Regions from separate parts of the Homo sapiens genome. Here region 2 is linked to region 1. The links are contacts of gene promoters, found by promoter capture Hi-C in human tissues and cell types (Jung and others, 2019). All regions are on one chromosome and are shown on one strand. The core of a region is centred on a gene start or on the middle of the fragment in contact, and the rest is flanking DNA. Distances in the headings are between cores, read along the strand shown. Region 1 holds the start of RBM22 (RNA binding motif protein 22). Region 2 holds the start of LOC124901207 (small nucleolar RNA U13).

Region 1 (3,611 bases), core at 569-3,068:
TGCATTCCTTCCCATACTTTTCTTTGGTCTATAATAGAAAAAAAATAGAAAAGAACTGGAGTTACAGAAAGAAAAAAGCCAGATGTCTACTCTTTCCTTAAACATAACCCAAGAAATGTGTCTGGAAATCCCTGGCATCCTAGAGAGAGAAAAACAGCAACAACAAAACCCAAAACCCAACCTTTTTTGGGAAGAGGGTAGGGAACATACTATAACAACATATTATAAGTGATAACATCTCAAGAGTATATGGATCTGGGCTGGGTGGCAGTGGCTCACGCCTGTAATCCCAACACTTTGAGAGGCCAAGGTGGAAGGATTGCTTGAGCCCAGGAGTTCCAGACTAGCCTGGGCAACATAGCGAGATGCTGTCTCTACAGAAAAAAGAAATAGAGTATATGCATCTAATGCTAGGTAAGTGAGTGTCTTTCCACAGCCACAACTCTTAGGTTCATTTTTGGCTCCCAAGTTCACTCCCAAGAACTAACATTCCTAATGCTTTCCACAATCCCTAAATCAGAGAGGATACAGCTGTGGCCCGCCCACTTTACAAAGTTTAGTCAAAAGGTAGCTACTGTAGACTTGTCCTGTGCCAATGCCCGGAATATAGTAAATGTTCTGTTTAAACAGAACTATTCAAACATCTTGAACCATTCAAACATCGTGAACATACTAACATATCAACACCTCTACGACTACACAATAATACAGCCCTAACCTTATTATTGTTAACTGGTTCTAATTTTACCCTAGTTTGTAACAAAGGGGGAATGCTTACTTTAAAGAGATAAAGTACACTGGCCAAAAGGCATTTGACCAGGATTCAGGAAACCTAGTTTCTAGTTCTGGTTCTCCTCCTATCATGCTGACATTCCTAGAGCCAGAATATGTGAACTTAAATCCCAGCTCCATTCCTTACTATTGTATGAAAAGACACAAACGCTCTCACCTTCTGGTCAACAGACCTATTTCCTAGGTAAATGCTCAACAAATACTAGCTATCGTTATTACCCCTACATTACAGGAGTGTTACCGGATTCGTAAGAGAATACACATGACAGTTCTTTGCAAGTCGTCCAGCACTTCGCGTTAGTAAAAGAGCATCATTTTTTCTGCTTGTCTAAGAGAAACACTTCACAGTGTGCAAGTACCACAACATCGACAGGACATGAATAACTCGTTTCACACGCGATCACTCACCATTCGGATATATGGGTTTTCTCCAAGACATGTCTGGCACAGAATGGGGAAGTCCTGGTGAAAATGGGAAATCTGGTTGAGGACCACCCTCCGAAGACCCTGACACCTCAGTGACACTTGGGGTGGCGAGGGGGCGGGAAGCGAGGGTGGGGAACTAGGCACGGCAGGAACCCGAAGTCCATCACGACCCGATCGCGGGAGGGGGCGCTGTCTGCACTTCCGGCAGGCGGCGGGAGAAAAGAAAACCAGCTCTAATAGGCTGGAGGGGGCAGGGATGGAAAGGGTGCTGGTCCCGGGACCCTGGCTAAGCCCCCTCCCTTCAAGCCCGCAGGAGGATCGCCCTCCGCCCTCCTGCTCCGGCCAAGCTAGGCCGCCGCGCTGGCTCCTCCCCGGTATTCCTTCGGCCGCGCCGCAGGCCCTGTCCTGCCAGCTTGCAAGGTGCGCGGCTTCGCCTCCTCCTTCCATCCTCCTCCGGCAGGCACACTCACCGCATCCTCCCAGTTCTGCCTGTTGTAGGTGTTGGAACCCAGAGAGGTCGCCATCTTGAGAGCGTCCGGAGGTAGCTGTAGCTTCCGAATTGGGAGAGAGGACCGCCACAATCCCGTCAAGCCCCGAGGCTAGCGCCGCGCCGGTCGGCGTCTTATTTACGCGTCTAGGGCTTCTTCCGGGGCGGGGCCTTTGCGTCATGACGTCGCCCGCTCTTGGAATTTCTAAGCTTAACAATTGGGGTCCTGGTATAATGCACCTGGATGCTTCCTTCGAGTTTTTGCCTGCTTGGAATGAAGGGCCACACGTACAGTTGATTCATTTAACAATTGGGCGAAAGAATAAAGGAAGACGTAATGCATCAGAGGCTGGGGTTAAAATAGCGTTCGCTACCACTGAGGCGCTTATTATGCCAAACTCTGGGCGAACGTCTTGCGGTTCCAGTGTCTTATTTATTCGCATAACCTCTCTGTAGGGCTCTCTGTAGGGCTGCCAGATTCTGATTCTGTCTCTCTCTCTCTCTCTCTCTCTCTCTCTCTCTCTCTGTCACTCACACACACACATGCACACACACACACGCACGAATTACAGAACGTCTAAAGTTGAATTTCAGATTAACGGCGAATCGCTTTTTAATTATAAATATATATGGTACCTACTCGTCCTAAAGTAGGATTCGTGGTTGACCTGAAATTCACATCACTTAACCAATCGTCCTGTATTTTATCTGGTAACTCTACCCTGTAGGCAAGTATGATGATCCCTCTTTTATAGAAAAGAAAACAGGTTTAGAGAGATTAACCTAATCTCTCCTGATATAGCTCCTGGTTGTGGAGCTAAAAAGTGGTGAAGCCACAAATTCATTAGTACTGTTTCATTTCCAGCTTCTGAAATGACAAGGGTCTTACGAATCAACATATGCATTATTTGATTTTTGGAATAACTCATAACCACTCTGCCAATATTTTATGAGTTTCAAGCCATTCTGGTACCACTTTCATACTTACCGTGTCATCAAGCTACCTAACACATTTATTTAAATCACCTCATTAAAAAAAAAAGTTGATTTAAAGTATAATTTACATAAAGTTTTATCCTTTTTAGTTTTGAATTTTGTACATACATTCACTTACAGTCAAATATGGAATTGTCTGTCATCCCCAAAGTTCCCTTGTTTCTGTAGTTAGTCCACTTATCCCATACTCAAACCATGGCAATCACTAATTTGTGTTCTGTCCCTAGTTTTGCCTTTTCCAGAATGTCACATAAGTGGAATCCTATATATCCTTTTGGATCTGATATTTTTTCACTTAGTATTTTGTAGTTGAGATTCATCCATATTATTACATGTATCAATAATTTCTTCCTTTGTATTACTGAGTAGAATTCCATTGTATGGATATATCATACAATTCACTTGCCAGTTGCTGGATATTTGGGTTGTTCCCAGATTTTAGTGAATATAAATAAAACCATTATAAACATTCACATACAGATCGTTGTATGGACATTGGTTTTCATTTTGCTTGTGTAAATGCCTTAGAGTGAGATTATTTGATCATATGGTAAGTATATCTTTTCCTTTATAAGAAAGTCCTTGGGTTTATCTGAGCTTCTTGGATCTGTGATTTGTTGTCTTTTATTATATTTGGAAAATTCTCAAGTATCATCTCTTCAGACTGTCTTCTGCCTGGTTTCTACATCTGTGACTCCAATTTCACATGCCTTGTGAGGAGTGCAAGGTCAGAAATAACAGAGTCCACGTACATTTGTGTTTTTCCACAATGCCAGACTTTTACTGATGCTATTTCAATCACAAAAGCCACGAACTACATGGAGTTTCCAAGAAAGCAATTCTCCTTAGTACTTCCCACTCACTCAGCACTCAGAGTCTTGGACACACAGGCTCAAGGCACTCCACAGGT
Region 2 (3,611 bases), core at 558-3,057, 670 kb before region 1:
GGGTGTGTACACATTGCATGTGTGTAAAATACACATTATAGGGTAAGTTATGCCTTTATGCTTGTTTGTGTATTTCATAAGAATAGGGATTTTTTTTTTTTTTGGTGGCAGTGTCTCACTCTGTCACCCAGGCTGGAGTGCAGTGGCACAATCTTGGCTCACTGCAACCTCCACCTCCTGGGTTCAAGTGGTTCTCCTGCCTCAGCCTTTCCTGAGTAGCTGGGATTACAGGAGCACACCACCACGCCCGGCTAACTTTTGTATTGTTGGTAGATATGGGGTTTCACCATGTTGGCCAGGCTGGCCTTGAACTCCTGACCTCAAGTGATCCACCCACCTCGGCCTCCCAAAGTGCTGGGATTACAGGGGTGAGCCACCACGCCTGGCCTAGAATAGGAATATTCTTTTACTGAAACATTGATGTATACCTTTACTCTCCCATTCATATTCCAAATTGTGTCAATTCGACCTGTGAACCCTGAAAATCTGAGACAGGTCTCAGTTAATTTAGAAAGCTTATTTTGCCAAAATTGAGGACATGCACCTGGGACACAGCCTCAGGAGGTCCTGATGACATGTGCCCAAGGTGGTCAGAGCACAGTTTGGTTTTATACATTCTAGGGGGACATCAGTCAACATACACAAGATGAACATTGGTTCAGTCTGGAAAGGCAGGACAACTGGAAGCAAAGGCAGGAAGACTCAAAGCAGGGAGGGGACTTATAGGTTATAGGTAGATAAGAGACAAGTGGTTGCATCCTTCTGAGTTTCTGATTAGCATTTCCAAAGGAGGCAGTCAGATATGCATTTATCTCAGTGAGCAGAGGGTGACTTTGAATAGAATGGGAGGCAGGTTGGCCCTAAGCAGTTCCCAGCTTGACTTTTCCATTTAGCATAGAGATTTGGGGGCCCCAAGATTTATTTTCTTTTCACAGACCCGATTTTATATATATATATATGTATATATATATATGTATGTGTGTGTATATATATATGTATATATATGTGTGTTTGATATATATATGTATATATATGTATGTATGTGTGTGTGTGTGTGTGTGTGTGTGTGTGTGTGTGTATATATATATATATATATTTTTTTTTTTTTTTTTTTCCTCCAGAAACAAGGTCTTGCTTTGTTGCCCAGGCCGGAGTGCAGTGGTGCAATCATAGCTCACTGCAGCCTCGAACTCCTGGGCTCAAGGAATCCTCCCAACTCAGCCTCCTGAGTAGCTGGGTACACAGGCAGGCACCACCATACCAAGCTAATTTTTAAATTTTTTTTGTAGAAACGGGGTCTCTTGCTATGTTGCCCAGGCTGATCTCAAACTCCTGGCCTTAAGCGATCCTCTTCCCTCCTCGGCCTCCCAAAGTACTGGGATTACAGGCATTAGCCACCTCCCCAGTGTCTTCTTTATTTTATTGTATATTTTTAAAGCCCCTCCTATTCTAGCACAGTTCCTTTATATAGCATATTTTTCTCCAGTCTGTGATCCAGTCTAGGATCAGATATTAACGTTTAGTTGTCATGTCTCTTTAGCTTCCTTTTAAAAATGAATGCATGGTTGTAGAAAATATAGAAAATTCAGGTAAAGGAGAAAGAAAAGTCCCTCATGATCCTGCCACCCAGAATGACCATCCGATGTGCTTTCAGGTCTTTTCCTGAATTTGTGTGTGTTTATTTTTTAATACAGTTTTTTAAAAATCAGAAACTTGGCTCTTACTCCATATACTAGTTTGTGGCTTATATTTTTCACTTCATTTAGTGATACAGATATTAAAAATTTTCTGTGTGTCCAAATTCCATGGATTAGTGGGGTTGGTTGGTTGGTTTTTTGGCTATATGTAGCTAGAATAGTTATCAAGTTTTTTTTTTTTTTTTCATGTCAAATGGGTAATGTGCTGACGTTATAATGAGGTTTGAGGGAGGCACATCTCACCCATGTGCATGAATACCAGATTGTCATACTTGTGAGCTATAAAAGGATCTCTCAAAATTTCCTAAGTTAGCATTTTTCAAGCTTTTGATCATGACCTTCAGTAACAGGCATATTTTTTATTACTGCCCAGTAAACATATATACTAAAGGTTTAATGAAGCTGTGCCCTTACTATATGCAGTCACTTTTTTTTTCTCATTCCTATTTGCAAAATCCTGGTTTCAACCCATTAAATTAATGTTATGACCCCTCATTGGATTGTGACCTGTAGTTTGAAAACTGTGTCATGGACCAGGTTGGAATAGGAAAACGGGTCTGCCATCTCCCCTGTCATGTGTTCTTTGTCAGTTAACTTCCTTTCTTTAACAGTTTTACATTTGCCCTGACAGGAATATCAACTGGCTTTTACTTTGAGAACTGTTTTGTTTTCCACACAGATGTGGCAGCTCTGGGTGTATGTGTGATCTTGCGGTGTAGAAGGAAGGTATCTGGTTAGCGTCGGTAGTTTTGTATATTTCCAGCCCCTAGATTCCCTTCATGTACACTCTGTTACTTGGGTAAACCCCAGTCTTCTCTGTAAATAGTTTCCTTTTGATTGGTGACATTGGGTATTTGTTAAAAGCCACAAGCTCTTTTACTAGTCTTAAACCAGTAAAGAGGTACATGAGATATTCAGAAAATCAACTTAAATTCATTATTATAGAATAATTTTAATTTTGTATGCTTTATCTTTTCTTTCTTTTTTTTAGCTATATAAGTAAAATATACATTCCTTATAAAACATTTGAGGCCAGGCATGGTGGCTCTTGCCTGTAATCCCAGCACTTTGGGAGGCTGAGGTGGGAGCATTGCTTGAGTCCAGCAGTTCAAGACCAGCCTGGGCAACATAGTGAGACCCACATCGCTACCAAAAAAAAAGCAAATTTTGTAGATAGTGGTAAAGAGGGAGAAACAACCATGATTGTCCTCTTACCCTGTGACATTTTAGTGAATAGTCTTTCAGACATCTTTCTATGCAAAGTTGTTCAACCATGTATTTATATGTATAAAAGCTATTATGTGCTTTTATAACTCAGTAGTAGTTGTAAATCTGATTCATGGTGTTTCTAATACATGGTATTAGAAACTGCACAGAAGCATGTGGCAAGGCCTGGACTTGAACATGACACTCAGCCTTTGGTGGGCTTGTGACTGCCAACTGGCAGTCCAGAGGGCTCATTTGGAGAATAGCTCTACAAATTCCCCGGGAAAGCATTCCCTCAAGTCGTTTCAGGACATGGGAGCTCAGGAGTTTGGCTAAGGTTCAAAAGCACTAAATAATTTGTTCTGATCCACAGCTACCAAGTGGCCCATCCAACAGGACTTCTCAGGTGAAAGTTGTGGAGGTCAAGCCCGATATGTTTCCTCCATATAAGTACAGCTGCACTGTCACATTGGTAAGTATGCAGCTAGGTGGTGGTGGGTTGACATGGAGGTTGTTTTGATTTTGTGGTTGAAGGTCAGTAGGAGGCTGGGGGAGAGGGTGGTGGTAGCTGGGAGGGAGAACAGGGTCAGGTATAGATTGTTAATGATGAAGATCCCATCCCTGATGCAAATAATAGCTACTGGATGAATCTGCTGGGTTGTTTTGGTCTCTTTCCAGGTGAGATTTATAAAGTGTAGGACAGCTGAG

What was found. The method cuts DNA at HindIII sites, captures the fragments that hold promoters and counts their contacts. A contact is called where the count stands out against the background at its distance.
Region 2: a contact is called between a fragment that was not itself captured here and the fragment with the promoter of RBM22 in region 1, in 1 of the 25 tissues and cell types used here (psoas muscle).

What each region holds. Positions count from the first base shown.
Region 1 is chr5:150,699,244-150,702,854 of GRCh38, forward strand. It overlaps RBM22 (RNA binding motif protein 22), which reads right to left and starts at 1,819. Exons shown (of 11, transcript NM_018047.3): 1 at 1,689-1,819; 2 at 1,201-1,254; 3 at 1-28. The coding sequence starts at 1,742. RefSeq lists enhancers at 1,061-1,837, 1,838-2,614. The HindIII fragment of the contact is 5,081 bases long and covers 1-3,115 here.
Region 2 is chr5:150,027,465-150,031,075 of GRCh38, forward strand. It overlaps HMGXB3 (HMG-box containing 3), which reads left to right. Exons shown (of 20, transcript NM_014983.3): 10 at 3,277-3,375. It overlaps LOC124901207 (small nucleolar RNA U13), which reads right to left and starts at 1,988; the gene lies at 1,885-1,988. The HindIII fragment of the contact is 3,972 bases long and covers 1-3,611 here.